2 separate regions of the Homo sapiens genome follow, and region 1 is linked to region 2. The links are contacts of gene promoters, found by promoter capture Hi-C in blood cells and fetal thymus (Javierre and others, 2016). All regions are on one chromosome and are shown on one strand. The core of a region is centred on a gene start or on the middle of the fragment in contact, and the rest is flanking DNA. Distances in the headings are between cores, read along the strand shown. Region 1 overlaps BAMBI (BMP and activin membrane bound inhibitor). Region 2 holds the start of C10orf126 (chromosome 10 open reading frame 126).

Region 1 (3,213 bases), core at 247-2,746, 160 kb before region 2:
GAGAACTGCTGTCTGACCTGTGATAAAATGAGACAAGCAGACCTCAGCAACGATAAGATCCTCTCGCTTGTTCACTGGGGCATGTACAGTGGGCACGGGAAGCTGGAATTCGTATGACGGAGTCTTATCTGAACTACACTTACTGAACAGCTTGAAGGCCTTTTGAGTTCTGCTGGACAGGAGCACTTTATCTGAAGACAAACTCATTTAATCATCTTTGAGAGACAAAATGACCTCTGCAAACAGAATCTTGGATATTTCTTCTGAAGGATTATTTGCACAGACTTAAATACAGTTAAATGTGTTATTTGCTTTTAAAATTATAAAAAGCAAAGAGAAGACTTTGTACACACTGTCACCAGGGTTATTTGCATCCAAGGGAGCTGGAATTGAGTACCTAAATAAACAAAAATGTGCCCTATGTAAGCTTCTACATCTTGATTTATTGTAAAGATTTAAAAGAAATATATATATTTTGTCTGAAATTTAATAGTGTCTTTCATAAATTTAACTGGGAAACGTGAGACAGTACATGTTAATTATACAAATGGCCATTTGCTGTTAATAATTTGTTCTCAACTCTAGGATGTGGCTTGGTTTTTTTTTTTCTCTTTTCTTTTTTAAACAAGACCAAGATCTTGCTTATTCTTCCATGTGCCTGTGTAATTTTCTTACAGTGTGGAGTTTCTAAATGTATACTGACCATCTTTTAGTGTCTTACCCACATTCTGGCTATAGGATAACTCTGGTTTTAGCTTTCATCTAAGAAGGAGATCTGGAATTTATGTGTACCAGGTCAGATATGATTGATCAATTTCTGGAGTTGACCTAGCAAAGGTCATTTTGATCCAGGTGTTCCGGAATACCTTTTCCAATGTGTATACCTCCACCCAAAAAAGAAAAAAAAACCAACTAAACAACTGTTTTTTTGTTCAAGTCAGTCACTGTCTCCTTTTACTGTTGATTAATTGGCCAGTTTATTTTGTCCTAAGCCAAATTAAGTATTTTGGCTCCCCAATTAGCCAAACCTTACTGTACAACACACTTAATTTTAAACCTTGTGCTTCAACAGTGTGATGCTTTTTTTTTTTTTAATACTTAGAAAGCTTTTCTGTAGTGAACACGATACACCAATTGATTTAAATAACTGCTACTAGGTTTCATCCTCCCAAATGATCCTTTATGTAACCAAATAGAACATTGGCTTTAGCCAGTAACTAATACAGCTAGGAAACAATGTTTCCTCTTATAAGACTTTTTGTCCTGATAACATTGCCCATCCTGAATTTAAACGTATGCTTTATTTGTGTACTTCCCGTGCCCCCAGTGGATCTTTCTTATTTTAAATGTGAGAATATTATGCCATGGAGGGTATCTTCTGAATTCCTTTGTATATGTGAAATTTTTGCTTAAAAGTTAACCCGTAGGCCGGGCGCGGTGGCTCACACCTGTAATCCTAGCACTTTGGGAGGCCGAGGCAGGTGGATCACAAGGTAAGGAGTTCAAGACCAGCCTGGCCAACATAGTGAAACCCTGTCTCTACTAAAAATGCAAAAATTAGCTGGGCGTGGTGGCGTGCATCTGTAGTCCCAGCTACTCGGGAGGCTGAGGCAGGAGAATTGCTTGAACCCAGGAGGCAGAGGTTGTAAGCTGAGATTGTGCCACTGCACTCCAGCCTGGGCAACAGAGGGAGACTCCATCTCAAAAAAAAAAAATTACAGCCTGCATATTCGAGTATGGGGTTTTCTTTTATTAATATTAATAGACCACCTGCCCCAAAAAACTAAGCTGTGGAATAAACACATATTAATAAATGATAGCATTCGTACTGTCCCTTTTAAGATGAGCAGCTCTTGCATGCATGCCTTATATTTTATAAAAGATGTTAAGCTTTATGTATGTCAGTTTTTGAGGAAGCCAAAGAATTGTTGAACCCAACCCTTCAAACCTGTCAAGGGAATTGATCAAAGTTGTCTGTTGGTGAAATTTCCACCCTCACCTCCACCTCTGGCTCTTTGAGTCTCACTCTGTCGCCCGGGCTGGAGTCCGGTGGCGCCATATGTATCACTACAACCTCCACCCCACTCGCCACACACCACACGTGGTGCACACCACCCTGCCCCCTGCCCCGCCGCGGGTTCAAGCGATTCTCCTGCCTCAGCCTCTGAAGCAGCTGGGATTACAGCCACCCACCACCATGCCTGGCTAATTTCTGTATTTTTAGTAGAGACAGGGTTTTCACCATGTTGGCCAGGCTGGTCCCAAACTCCTGACCTCAAGTGATCCTCCTGCCTCAGCCTCCTAAAGTGCTGGGATTAAGGTGTGAGCCACTCTGCCCAACCCCACTCTGGCTCTTGATCACATTATAGTAGATTGTAGTTTAGAGATGAAAGGACTTCTTGCTCCTTGTACATTCTCATTTCATGTACGACATTATGCAAGCTCAGCAATTCTTCAAGTGGCCAGTTTTTATATCTGTTACGTAGTCAGAGTTTCTTTTCTCTGCTTGCCCTGATGAGGGCCGGTTCACCTCATTTTTTCCAAGTACAGGTTAACCAGGAACTCTGCAATTCTTTAGGAAATAAAACAATGAAGGATTTAAAGTCATGTGCTTTGAAACACTTTGAAATCAGTGAACCCCTTCCTCCCAGAGAGGCCTATGTCTGGACTGGTGTTACCACAAACTTCATGGAGGATGCATGCAGCCTCTCCACTTGATCTTGGGCCTTTGTTCTTCCTATTGTATATTCACGAGGCTATTTACAGCTCCCTGTACTGTGGGGAGGTGGCACTGTGCCCATGGCCTCTCAGTTTTCTGGGGCTCCGCTTCTAGCCACATAATAGGCCAGCCCTGCCTCTTTTCCTAAAAAAATCCTCTCTCTTGATATTCATTTAGTTTTTACACGTGTCCTCACCACCAATCTGAAAGTCAGATCCGCCTTCTTATGAAAATACTGCAGGCACCTCAACTTTGGATGTAACTAAGAACTACATATAGATTTTACTTTTGCTTCCCTGTGAGAGTGCAGAAGTTGCCAGGAGCCAGAGATTAAGGACTAAGATAAGGTCCAGGGTCTACCTGATTCAGTGATGTCAGAAGTGGTGGTGACTGGTTTATTTGTTTTTCCGTCTTAGAGATGTTTACTGTTACTCTGAGGTGTCACAAGGCCAGGCTAACCAGGAACAACCCTTGCTTAATATTGTCATAGAACT
Region 2 (3,259 bases), core at 436-2,935:
GACAGAGGACTGGACTGGAGATATTCATTTGGGAGTTATCAGTGTGTGGGTAGTATTTAAAGCCATGGAACCACATGAGATCTCCAACGGAGTAAGTAGAGACAGAGATGAAAACAACAGCAACGACTGAGCCCCAGAGTAATTAGAAGTTAAAAGGGGCTAAGGACTGCAATGAATGTGCATGACAAGATCCATGTATTGCCATCAAAGTGAGTGACTGTTTCTAGGAGGGTAGAGGTCAAGATGCCTGAAGGAGGAGAGAAGTTTAATGACCTATGATGGTGGAGTTTTGGAAAGATTATTATCTATGCATTGAACATGCTCAGAAAAGAGAGGAGAAGTATTGGGGAGGATGCCAATGGGCTGAGAACTGATGTTGTTGAAAAAGGTGGTGAACAATGTTGGGCAGGGGTATTACAGGACCAACATGTTTGTATGCCTGTTGTGCAGAAACAGACCAATACACCAAGACAGCAGGCTTTGCAGCAGAGAGAGGGTTTGATGACAGCAGGGAGGCCGAGTGAGCAGATGGGAGAAGACCCTCAAATCCATCTCCCCGAAGAGTTCTAGGCTGAGGTTTTCAAGGGGATTATGGGGGGTGAGGGGCTGAAAAACTATAGTCATTGATTGGTTGGGGAAAGGGGGATGAAATCATCAGGATGTAGAAACTGCATTCTTCAGTGAGTCAGCTTCTCGTGGGGTCCTTCAGACCAGCTGGCGTCAGTAGTTTCATCAGTATGCATGACCTACAAGAATATCTCAAATGGAAAGCAACATTTCACAATGTTCAGTTGTTATCTGTGGAGCAGTGAAGGGGGACTCTAATCTTGTGACAGGGTCTGTGTGATTCTGGAGCAATAGGTAGCAAAACACTATGAGGAAGGATCAGAGAACAGCTGACCCCATGACTAACACTGAGTATGTGCAAGCTTGGCTTATTTTTGTTTCTCTCCCTCCCTTCTCTTCTGATTAATTGTATAAAGTTTCTAGGGACAGTTTCAGGGGTGATAGATGATGATGGTACGAGATTTGCAGTAGAAGGGAAGGAGAAGGTTCTGGAAGGGGAAAAGAGGACCAGCAGGGTCCCTCCATCACCTCCAGGTCTGCAGGAGGTGGCAGGAGGGCCTGGAATGAAAAACAGCCAGTGGCTGGGCGCAGTGGCTCACGCCTGTAATCCCAGCACTTTGGGGGGCTGAGACGGGCAGATCACGAGGTCAAGAGATTGAGACCATCCTGGTCAACATGGTGAAACCCCGTCTCCACTAAAAATACAAAAATTAGCTGGGTGTGGTGGTGTGTGCCTGTAATCCCAGCTACTTGGGAGGCTGAGGTAGGAGAACCACTTGAACCCGGGAGGTGGAGGTTGCAGTGAGCTGAGACCGCACCACTGCACTCCAGCCTGGCTACAGAGGGAGACTCCATCTCAAAAAAAGAAAAAGAAAAACAGCCAGCGCATGAGAGAAGATGTGAGCATCGTCCTCAGGGAAGAGTCAGTTTTTGTCAGAACAAGGAGGGACTATTTGGAAGTTAGTTTGGGATGTGAGGCGTTTTGCTATTAGTGGATCAGGCTGATGGCACCGTGGAGGGGTTTCAGGAGTCAAGAACAGGTGGGAGAAAGTTTCCCAGTGCAGGTTGTGCAAGCCTCCTGGCCCGGAGAGTGTGGGTGTGACGAGTGGCTTGAGAGACAGGGATGAAGAGCATGAATGCGAATGTACAGCACTGAGCTCGCGTCTGCCACATGGTAAGCTCTTAGAAGACCTCAGCTTCTTATTCATTTTGTCACAAATCGATTAATTACTGAGCTGAAGGACATATTAGAAAACGGTCAATAGCAATACTTCTAACTTCCAATCTGTACTTACGCTTGGCATTCAATCGATGTTATCAAAACCTGTGCCAGCTCCAAGGAAGAGAGAACACTGTTTTCTGATTTAGTTGCTTCCTGAAAGGAGCTGAGAGCTGTAAAACACAGGCAAGATTGGACTTTTCAATAATGCTTATATATTGACTTGCAGAAACAATATTAGAACTTTTTTAAAATGCACACATTATCTCCTTAGGGTAAGGGAAAAGGTTTTACCTTTTTATTTTTGCATCTCCCCTTTGAGTGAACATCATTCTTTTTTCTTTAACTCACAACTTTACAAGGTATTTGGAGAAATATAAGGGAGAGATAGTTTCTGTTTCTCACCTCTTTAAGCAATGTCCTCTTGTATACCAAATAATATCTTCCTGTGGTTAATGATATGAGAAACAGAATGCCTCTCCAGAAACCTTTTCACATCCCAGATTCAGAGTTCCTGAGGCCAGAATCTGATCTGACATATTTTACTACTTAGGTAAATCCTTAATCTCAAGAGTGATGAGAGTGAAGTCTTTTTATGTTTGTTTTTTAGAGATGGGCCTCTTTCTGTCGCCCAGGCTGGAGTGCAATGGTGTGATCATAGCTCACTGCAGCCTCAACCTCCTGAGCTCAAATAGTCCTCCTGCCTCAGCTTCCTGAGTTGCGACTACAGCCATGAACCACTGCATCCAGTTCAGGTTTTTTGTTTGTTTGTTGTTTTCCTTAAAAAACACTAGTGATTCTATTTTGATTCTGACAACTTTCATAAGGTCCAGGGACAAAATAAATGTGTTATCTCTTGGGAGGAGATGGATTTATAAGCCCATGGGCACCATTCAGAGGCCATATGCCCTGGAAGCACTGAGGAATGTGCTCAAAGCAAACCCTTGGGTCATCCTTGACTCTTCTTTTGCTCTCACATCCACATCCAATCTATGAGGAAATTAACTTAGCTCAGGTAGTTTAAAAATCCATCTGAATGTTGCGGCCAGGCATGGTGGCTCATGCCTGGAGTCCCAACTACTCAGGAGGTTGAGGCGGGAGGATTGCTTGAGCGCAGGAGCTCGAGGCTGCAGTGAGCTATGATCATGCCACTGCACTCCAGCCTGGGCAACAGAGCAAGGCTCAGGCTGGTCTTGAACTCCTGGCCTTTAGTGATCCTCTTGCCTTGTCCTCCCAAAGTGTTGGGATTACAGGCACGGGCCACTGAGCCCTGCCTAAAACGTTCAATGTCAGTGACTTGGAAGAATGTTCTGGTGGACGGGAAAGCCCCGGATGGAGAGAGGATTCAGGCATTTGAGAGGTCAGAGAGAAGCAAGGTATCCAAGGACAATGGAATTGGCTGCTTGTTGCTCAATTGAATTGAGGCTCTACATTAGGATAATGAAAAGCTGTAGGCAGTTAGGGAGCAATTGA

The links. The method cuts DNA at HindIII sites, captures the fragments that hold promoters and counts their contacts. A CHiCAGO score of 5 or more calls a contact.
Region 1: a contact is called between a fragment that was not itself captured here and the fragment with the promoter of C10orf126 in region 2, in 1 of 17 cell types (megakaryocytes). The highest score is 6.3, in megakaryocytes.

Annotation. Positions count from the first base shown.
Region 1 is chr10:28,682,285-28,685,497 of GRCh38, forward strand. BAMBI (BMP and activin membrane bound inhibitor) reads left to right here. Exons shown (of 3, transcript NM_012342.3): 3 at 1-648. The coding sequence ends at 117. Among named protein-coding and RNA genes, the nearest start is that of BAMBI, 6.4 kb to the left of the region's middle. RefSeq lists an enhancer at 1,591-2,499. The HindIII fragment of the contact is 784 bases long and covers 1,105-1,888 here.
Region 2 is chr10:28,844,723-28,847,981 of GRCh38, forward strand. C10orf126 (chromosome 10 open reading frame 126) reads left to right here and starts at 1,686. Exons shown (of 5, transcript NR_164114.1): 1 at 1,686-1,741; 2 at 2,397-2,541. The HindIII fragment of the contact is 7,202 bases long and covers 928-3,259 here.